Regions from separate parts of the Homo sapiens genome. Here region 1 is linked to region 2. Evidence: promoter capture Hi-C in human tissues and cell types (Jung and others, 2019). All regions are on one chromosome and are shown on one strand. The core of a region is centred on a gene start or on the middle of the fragment in contact, and the rest is flanking DNA. Distances in the headings are between cores, read along the strand shown.

What was found. The method cuts DNA at HindIII sites, captures the fragments that hold promoters and counts their contacts. A contact is called where the count stands out against the background at its distance.
Region 1: a contact is called between a fragment that was not itself captured here and the fragment with the promoter of LAMP5 in region 2, in 1 of the 25 tissues and cell types used here (H1 embryonic stem cells).

Annotation. Positions count from the first base shown.
Region 1 is chr20:9,922,215-9,926,205 of GRCh38, forward strand. No RefSeq gene overlaps it. Among named protein-coding and RNA genes, the nearest start is that of PARAL1, 62 kb to the right of the region's middle. The HindIII fragment of the contact is 5,925 bases long and covers 1-3,991 here.
Region 2 is chr20:9,512,565-9,516,773 of GRCh38, forward strand. It overlaps LAMP5 (lysosomal associated membrane protein family member 5), which reads left to right and starts at 2,026. Exons shown (of 6, transcript NM_012261.4): 1 at 2,026-2,352; 2 at 2,889-3,061; 3 at 3,436-3,567; 4 at 3,692-3,797. The coding sequence starts at 2,289. LAMP5-AS1 (LAMP5 antisense RNA 1) reads right to left here and starts at 2,434. Exons shown (of 5, transcript NR_109957.1): 1 at 2,200-2,434. RefSeq lists an enhancer at 2,961-3,545. The HindIII fragment of the contact is 16,129 bases long and covers 1-4,209 here.

The sequences.
Region 1 (3,991 bases), core at 1,074-3,573, 410 kb after region 2:
AGTCAGAAAATTTACATCATTTCTTTTATTACCTGAAATCAAATTTTTATTATGATTCCCCTACAGAGTTTTATCCTAATTTATTTTATATTTGAAAGTTGTTTTTAGTCATTCTACATTCTTCTAAGCACCAAAAATATATATAACAGATTGAAATTTTTTGTTGATGATCATAAAATTTGAAATATTTTAATATATATTGAAATAAAATTGTAATTATTAGTAATTCACAATTGATAAAAGCATTATAAAGCTATTACAAATTTTGATAAATAAATATTAAACAGAAAAGCAAAATTTTATCACAAATGCATCTCTTAATGAGATAAATGGGACTTTTTCCCAATTCATATATTTGTGGATGTCTATGAAGGTCACAATTCTTTCTTTTTTTTTTTCTTTTTTTGAGACAGGGTCTCATTCTGTTACCCAGGCTAGAGTACAATGGTGTGATCACAGCTCACTGCAGCCTCCTCCACCTCCTGGGCTCAAGAAATCCTTCCACTTTAGCCTCCTGAGATGCTGGGACTACAGGTGTCCAACACCATGCCAGTTAATTTTCTTTTTCTTTTTTTTTTTTTTTAGAGACAAAGTTTGCCGCATTGCCGAGGCTCGTCGTGAAATCCTGGGCTAAAGAAATCTGCCCACCTCGGCCTCCCAAAGTGCTGGGATTACAAATGTGAGCCATCTCACTCGGCCCATAAATATTTATTTATTGCTAAAAGAACATAGGTCTGATCATGGACTCTATTTGTATTATCATATGTGTGTGTGTGTATATATATATATATATATAGTTACTGTGAAAGCTTGTTCTTATAAACAAGTACATAAGATTAAAAGGGATTTTAATACAGCAATGGCATTCAATTGCTTGAACTTTCCAAATATATGCCAAAATCACATTGTTGCCCATCATACAACTCTTTTTTTTTTCTCTTTTTTTCTGAGACAGAGCCTTACTCTGTTGCCCAGGCTGGAGTGCAGTGGCTCAATCTCGGCTCACTGCAAGCTCTGCCTCCTGGGTTCACGCCATTCTCCTGCCTCAGCCTCCTGAGTAGCTGGGACTACAGGCGCCCGCCACCACGCCCGGCTAATTTTTTGTGTTTTTAGTAGAGATGGGGTTTCACCATGTTAGCCAGGATGGTCTCAATCTCCTGACCTCATGATCCGCCCTTCTCGGCCTCCCAAAGTGCTGGGATTACAGGCGTGAGCCACCGCACCCGGCCATACAACTCTTTTAATAATTCTATCAGCTATGAGCTTTATGAAGCCCTCCGTCAATTTTGCTGAAAGCTCATAAATGGAAATCCCCAGACTTGTAAAAGGATTTCTATCCCAATCTCTAGAGTAGTTCAAGTTCTCATTATCTGGGAGAAACAGCAAAAAGGTGAATCAACTACTATTTACAAAGTTTATTACTCTTTTAACCAGAGATATACTCTGAAAAGCTTTGGAAAATCAAAATATTGCTTATTTCTGTACTTTGTATTGTACTTTGCAAAAAACATTTTATTAAATGCTTTTAAAATGTCTTAAGATATCACAGGCCTTCAATACATTTTTTTCATGAAAATCTCAGAGGTATAGATCAATGAGTTAAAAAGACCCCTGAATGACGTAATTGGCAAGGCTAGGCCTAATTTTAAAACCCATTAGCCAAACCCATCTTCTCTGTCAGCAAAAATGGGACATTATTTATCAATACAAAAAGATGGCTGGGTGCAGTGGCTCACGCCTGTAATCCCAAGCACTTTGGGAGGCCAAAGTGAGTGGATCACGAGGTCAAGAGATCGAGATCATCCTGGCCAACATGGTGAAACCCCATCTCTACTAAAAATACAAAAATTAGCTGGGTGCGGTGGTGCACACCTATAGTCCTAGCTACTTGGGAGGCCGAGGCAGGAAAATCACTTGAACCAGGGAGGCGGAGGTTGCAGTGAGCCGAGATCGTACCATTGCACTCCAGCCCAGTGACAGAGTGAGACTCCGTCTCAAAAAAAAACAAAAGTCAATACAAACAGCTATGTTATGATACATATGAAAATATCTATCTTACAGAATGTATCTTGAGGGGCATATTACCAAACACATGAGGAAAAGAAATTATGATGTTATAAAATGAAAATGATAAATCAATATACTGTTTTCCATTACTGAATTTGTAATTTTTATTCAATGTAGCTAAAATTATGAATTATTTATAAACAACAAAATATAACAGAAAACATGTTATTTCTTTGAAATACATACTTATTTACACATCTGGACTTGTGTGTATGTATGAGAGTATATTTGTGTTTGTGTGCGTGTTGTATTCTGGTGTTCTGTTTTTGAGATTAATGAAGTAAGACTTGTATTAAAAATTAGAAAGAATTTCTTAAATTTTATTAGATCCCATAAATGAACTTTCTCTATATATTTACTTTACAAGAAAAGCATAAACTGCTAAAAAACAAATTGGTCTAACAGCAAGTATATAATTTAATTATTTTAATTGCGAGAAAAAAATGTGACATTTGTAAGATGAAACCAGATAAGGTTACTGTAACAAGATAAATAGCTCATGATATTATTTGATAAAAAGGTTTTATTTCTCTTATTTAATAACAACAAATGTGAAAGAAGTCTCACAAAATTTTACCTCTGATTTGTATCCAGAACAAACGCTAATCCTAGAAAACAGACCAGTTAAAGTGAAATGCATTAGAATCCCCCATCTATCATTTTCATGCATTCAAAGGTCCTTTTCTTCCCTTTTCTAGGGATGAAGGTTGAGAGACCAAAACATTGCTTATATTTAAACACATGAAAGAAATTGATATTTTAGCTTTCAGTGTTTCTAGTGATCTCTTTGCTTTGTTCTCCTGGAATCTTCCTCAAGAGAGATTCCTCCTTTGATAGTATTCAGGAATTTAAGAGGTTAGGTTGCTCACTCCTACTTCCATACTCTACAAAACACCTGAATTAAATATTTAGGAATGAATGAAATACCACATGTCAAATTCTGGGGACCTAAAAGTAGAACATAGAAGAAAATGTGTAGTTTAAAACATGTATTAAGAAACCAAAAAAGAGTCAGAAAAAAAGTGAGCCAAGCATTCAAATAAAGAACATGGAAAAGAAGCAGGAAAGCACATCCAATAAGCAAGGACATAGAAATAAAGGTCATAGCAGAAATTTATGAAATTGTGAAAAATGGAAATAATGGCAAGTAGCAATAATTAAACTAGCTCTTTGAAATGCTTAATAAAAAGGACAGGTTTCTGGGGAGACTGAAGAGGAGAAGGGGAAATTTGCAAATAAACAAATCCATAAACTAAAAAGGATAGACTACATATATATATCTGCAACAGAAATTTAAAATAAAAAAGAATACTGTAAATTACTGTCTCTAAATTTGAATATATAGATGGTGTGAAAAAATTCTTAGAAAAATGTAAACTGCCACAAATTAGAGAGAACTAAAATGGGCCAGTAAGAATTCAAGAAAAGGCCTCCTCTTCAGAAATGCCCCCAGATCCAACCGGTTTTATAAGTATGATCTCCCAAACATTTAAGAAAGGGTTAAGTCTATTGTTTACCACTTTCTCTAGAAACTAGCAAAAGAGAAAAGGCCATCTTTCTGTAATTGATCAAATAAAACAGAGTTTAAAACTGACTGCAACACTCAAAGGATGAAAAGAGGAGAGTGATGTGACCTGATTTGCAACAATTGAATTCTTGTAACTTAGAATGAAGTCACTTTTGCCACTGCTTAGGGCCTGGACTGGATGAAGTTTAAATTACAGGTAGGAGGAGGTCCAGTTATGGAGAATACCACAGTGGTCAGGGTGAGAGATGATAAGAACCTGAATTAAGAAAATAAATGTGGTGGTGGAAGAGATGGATTAGAGAGCTTTTGAGGAATTAGAATGGACAGGTCTTATAACTGATTATCCTTAAGAAGTGCTGGTGAGCAGCGGGGACTCTGAGGCCCAAGAGACCAAGG
Region 2 (4,209 bases), core at 776-3,275:
CTTTTAACAACTTATATAGTGAAGATATCTGCAATAACATACTGCAAGAGAAATTGTCAAAATCTTTTATAGGTGTCTCTCCTACTTGTGTAATGATAAATATCTTTTGGTTTTCAAAGCATCAAGCATACTGGAAGTAGTAAGTATTCGGTTAATGTTTATGGATCTATTTGTACTTTGTTTATTTATACTCATTGGCCCATTTGGTTTAACTAGCCATCCCCTGAGTTATTTTCCCAATTTTTCAGATGAGAACAAATAAAATCTTCAGAAGGTCACAAAAATAATAAGTAGTGAATCCTGGACTGAAATCTACTCATTTCTGTCCTCATAAAATACTGGAGAGAGAGAGAGAGAGAGAGAATAAATACTTTATTACATGTCTCATTGTTTTCCAGTTTTACAGTACTACAGGAAAATAAGTGTTTAATAATAATTGCTAACATGAAAAAATGTAACACATACAAATGTTATCTCTTCCACTTTCAACTGATGAGAACTGACGTTTTATCAATCTTCTGTATAAAATCATTTCTGTTAAGTTCTGTAAAATTTGCATCAATTCTTCTATATATAATCATCTTTGTAAAGTTCTTGAGAAATGTTTGGATGAAATACTGAACTACAAACATAAAAGTCAAGATGTCAAAATATAATGTCAATTTTAATATTACTTTATACTTTGAATTGCTAGTGATCTAATGATTGATATAGGAATATGTTTGAAAGCCAAAAACATTATATAGATACTTTGTGGCAGATATGTCAGAATGTGATTATACTTAAAACAGCATTCTATAAATTTGAAGAATGTGAATTAATGATAGAGATTTCAGATTTCAGATTATTATTTGATATTGAATATAGATTTTTATGGAAGTCAAAATATGGAGTAAAAATATTATATAAGGAGAAATGAAGATAATCTCACAGAGTTAAAGCATGTGATTTTTGTATTTTAATTCTAACTGACCATGTGACATTTGGGAAGGTCATTTAATTTATTTGAGCCTCAGTTTTGGGGTATGTAAAACCACAGTAACTCATATCTTTCCTTGCCTACCCTCTAAGATTGGGGAGAATCAAATTAGATAATGCAGGTGAAATACTTTGCAATTTTCCCTTTAATATGACATTGTTTTATAACATTATATTACTGATGCAACATTTATTTGCATTATGAAATATCTTCTAAGGAATAAAATATTTGGACATCACTACAATTGATGAGGACTGCATGTGTATTTTTGAAAGCTGTATTCTGATTTACAGAGCAAAAATAAAAAATAAGCAAGCTACCAAATATGTAAATACAGGAATTAGCCCAGTAGTATTTGTTCTTCTGTTCCACTACAGGCTTTAGAGTAATATCAGTGTGTGTTTTTCTTACATAACTATGTGACATTACTTAGGGCATAATTCTAAAATTTCTGTCCTAGGAGACACTAGATAACTCTCAAAAACTTCTGATTTGCTTGCATCCCTTTTTGGCAGAGTGGTCACAGTATAATGCGGGAGGGTAGGTGACCCCAGAGTTCAGAGTCCTCATGCACCCGGGAGCAAAATTCACAGGAAAATAAGCCCACATGGAGCTACTGCATTGTCTGATGGCCTCGTTCGAGGAGGCGTCAATTTAACTTTAAACCCATGAGCTCATTGAGAGCAGGGGAGAGAAGGGGATGTCTCCAAATTCAGGAAACTGTTGCCATAGCATTTTCCCTTCTCTATTCCTGCATAGCCCTCCTCCCCCGAATCAGCAACAATTTTTGCTCCACCGTTTTCTTTCGGGAACCAGATGCGTTTTCAGAAGACAGTACTCCAGTGATAAGGTATCTACACCACTTAATAACTGTACCTGGTAAGGAGATTTAATAAGGCTGAGGGTGGTATTAAGTTTCTCAGAACAGACTCATCTTTGCGGATGCAGTTGCAGAACAGGAAACAGACCCAGGGAGAAGTTTAGTCCCCCCAGATCTCATTGGCCCTCCGCACAAGCCAAGCCACAGCCACTCCTGCCACACAATCGGATTGCTTTCAGCACTCGCAGCCGTGGACCGCCGTGCGGTCCTTTCCTCCGCAGTGAGCCGATTTGCTCTGCCAGCAGCTGTCGGTGCCGCGCTCGACACCGAGTCCTAGCTAGGCGCTCACAGAATACGCGCTCCCTCCCTCCCCCTTCTCTGTCCCCCGCCTCTCGCTCACCCCGGCCCACTCCAGCGGCGACTTTGAGGGATTCCCTCTCTGGCGGCCTCTGCAGCAGCACAGCCGGCCTCATTCGGGGCACTGCGAGTATGGATCTCCAAGGAAGAGGGGTCCCCAGCATCGACAGACTTCGAGTTCTCCTGATGTTGTTCCGTGAGTAGCGATTTGGCGACTGGGAGAGAGGACGGGCACTCTTTGCAGAGAACAGAGCCGGCAAAGTAAAGTCAATTAGCTTGAGATAAAAAATATGGCCCTTAATGTTTTGCGGTGTTTTTTCTTTTTTTCTTTTAGGGGAGGAGGGAGGGCCTTCCTCGCCGGTGGCAGGGAATTCCCCTGAGAGCCATACACCTCTGTGGCATATTCCAGACAGAGCCTAGACAGGCCAGCTTCGTGAGGTCAGAGCATTGGCAAGAAATATTTACTTTAAAATCCCAAGATGTAGAAAACAGCCAGCTATATTACAAACAAAGTCAGGATTTTTAATTTTTTTAACTGTATTTTCATTATAAATTAACAGCGAAGGAATGAGGCTTGTTAGACCCGGGTTAGAGAAACGGCTCGTAGAGCGCACAGCTGCTGGCAGAGAACTTTGTCACTCCAAAGCCTGCAGAGCACTGTCTCCCCACCCTAGCGCCCGAGACGCGTGGGCTGAGCCCTGAACTGATGGAATTGTTTTGTTTGTTCCGCAGATACAATGGCTCAAATCATGGCAGAACAAGAAGTGGAAAATCTCTCAGGCCTTTCCACTAACCCTGAAAAAGATATATTTGTGGTGCGGGAAAATGGGACGACGTGTCTCATGGCAGAGTTTGCAGCCAAATTTATTGTACCTTATGATGTGTGGGCCAGCAACTACGTAGATGTAAGGAATCTTTCCCCCCCCTCAGCTTGCTCCTAGGGCTCCAGGGCGAAGGGCACCCTTCCTCAAGGCTCTTCGAAGACCTGGGTTGCCCGCCTTCTTTCCCACACCCCGGCAGGCTGCTCCCGAATGCTGCATGGGGATTCCAGCTTGTAATGCCTTCTGTTCCCCTGCCTGCTTTGAAAGTAAACCCCCTTCTCTCCGCTTCCCTATCGGGGCTGCACGTAGAGCATCTAACCGCATGTTCCCGGAACCTGGGATGCGCGCGCGCAAAGGAGCGCCCAAGCGTGCAACCCAGAGTTTGGACGCGCCGCCCTTTACAGCCCCCGCCCCGGGGCCGGGCGAGCTGAGGGGGCGCGGGGCGTCTGTGTTCCCAGCTGATCACAGAACAGGCCGATATCGCATTGACCCGGGGAGCTGAGGTGAAGGGCCGCTGTGGCCACAGCCAGTCGGAGCTGCAAGTGTTCTGGGTGGATCGCGCATATGCACTCAAAATGCTCTTTGTAAAGGTAACTCCGAGCCCAGCGGGCAGAGGGGCCGCAGGCTCCGCGTGGGTGTGGGAAGTGGCGGCCCCTAGGTTTAAGAACCCAGACGCTGCGGGGACGATTGAAGCGCACCTCCCCGGCTCAACAGGAAAGCCACAACATGTCCAAGGGACCTGAGGCGACTTGGAGGCTGAGCAAAGTGCAGTTTGTCTACGACTCCTCGGAGAAAACCCACTTCAAAGACGCAGTCAGTGGTGAGTGGAGGCTGGCATGGCTGGGGAGGGAGCCTGGGAACTCGCAGAACAGGCTTGGAGAGAGAATTCCTCAAGGTTTTGGAAACCGTCCCACGCTTTGAGGTCCCAGGCCAAGTCTTCCCTCGGCTTGCTCTTTAGGGCGGAAGAGGCGGGAGCGCCCATGAGTCTTCTGGGTCTCAGGCCTTGTAGATCCGCCAGGAACCGCAGGCGTGGGGACCCAAACGTCACCCGTGGCCTGATCCTAGATAAGAAGTCCCTTGAAGGCCTGTCGTTCCCTGGTGCTTCAAAACGACCTCTTATGATTTGGCCTTTGAAGGACCACGGAGAAGGGCAAAGCTGCATTTTAATTTTCTTCCGCATCCTGGTTTTGTTTCTTATGCGCTAAAACTGCAAGGGGGCAGTGCGACTTTCC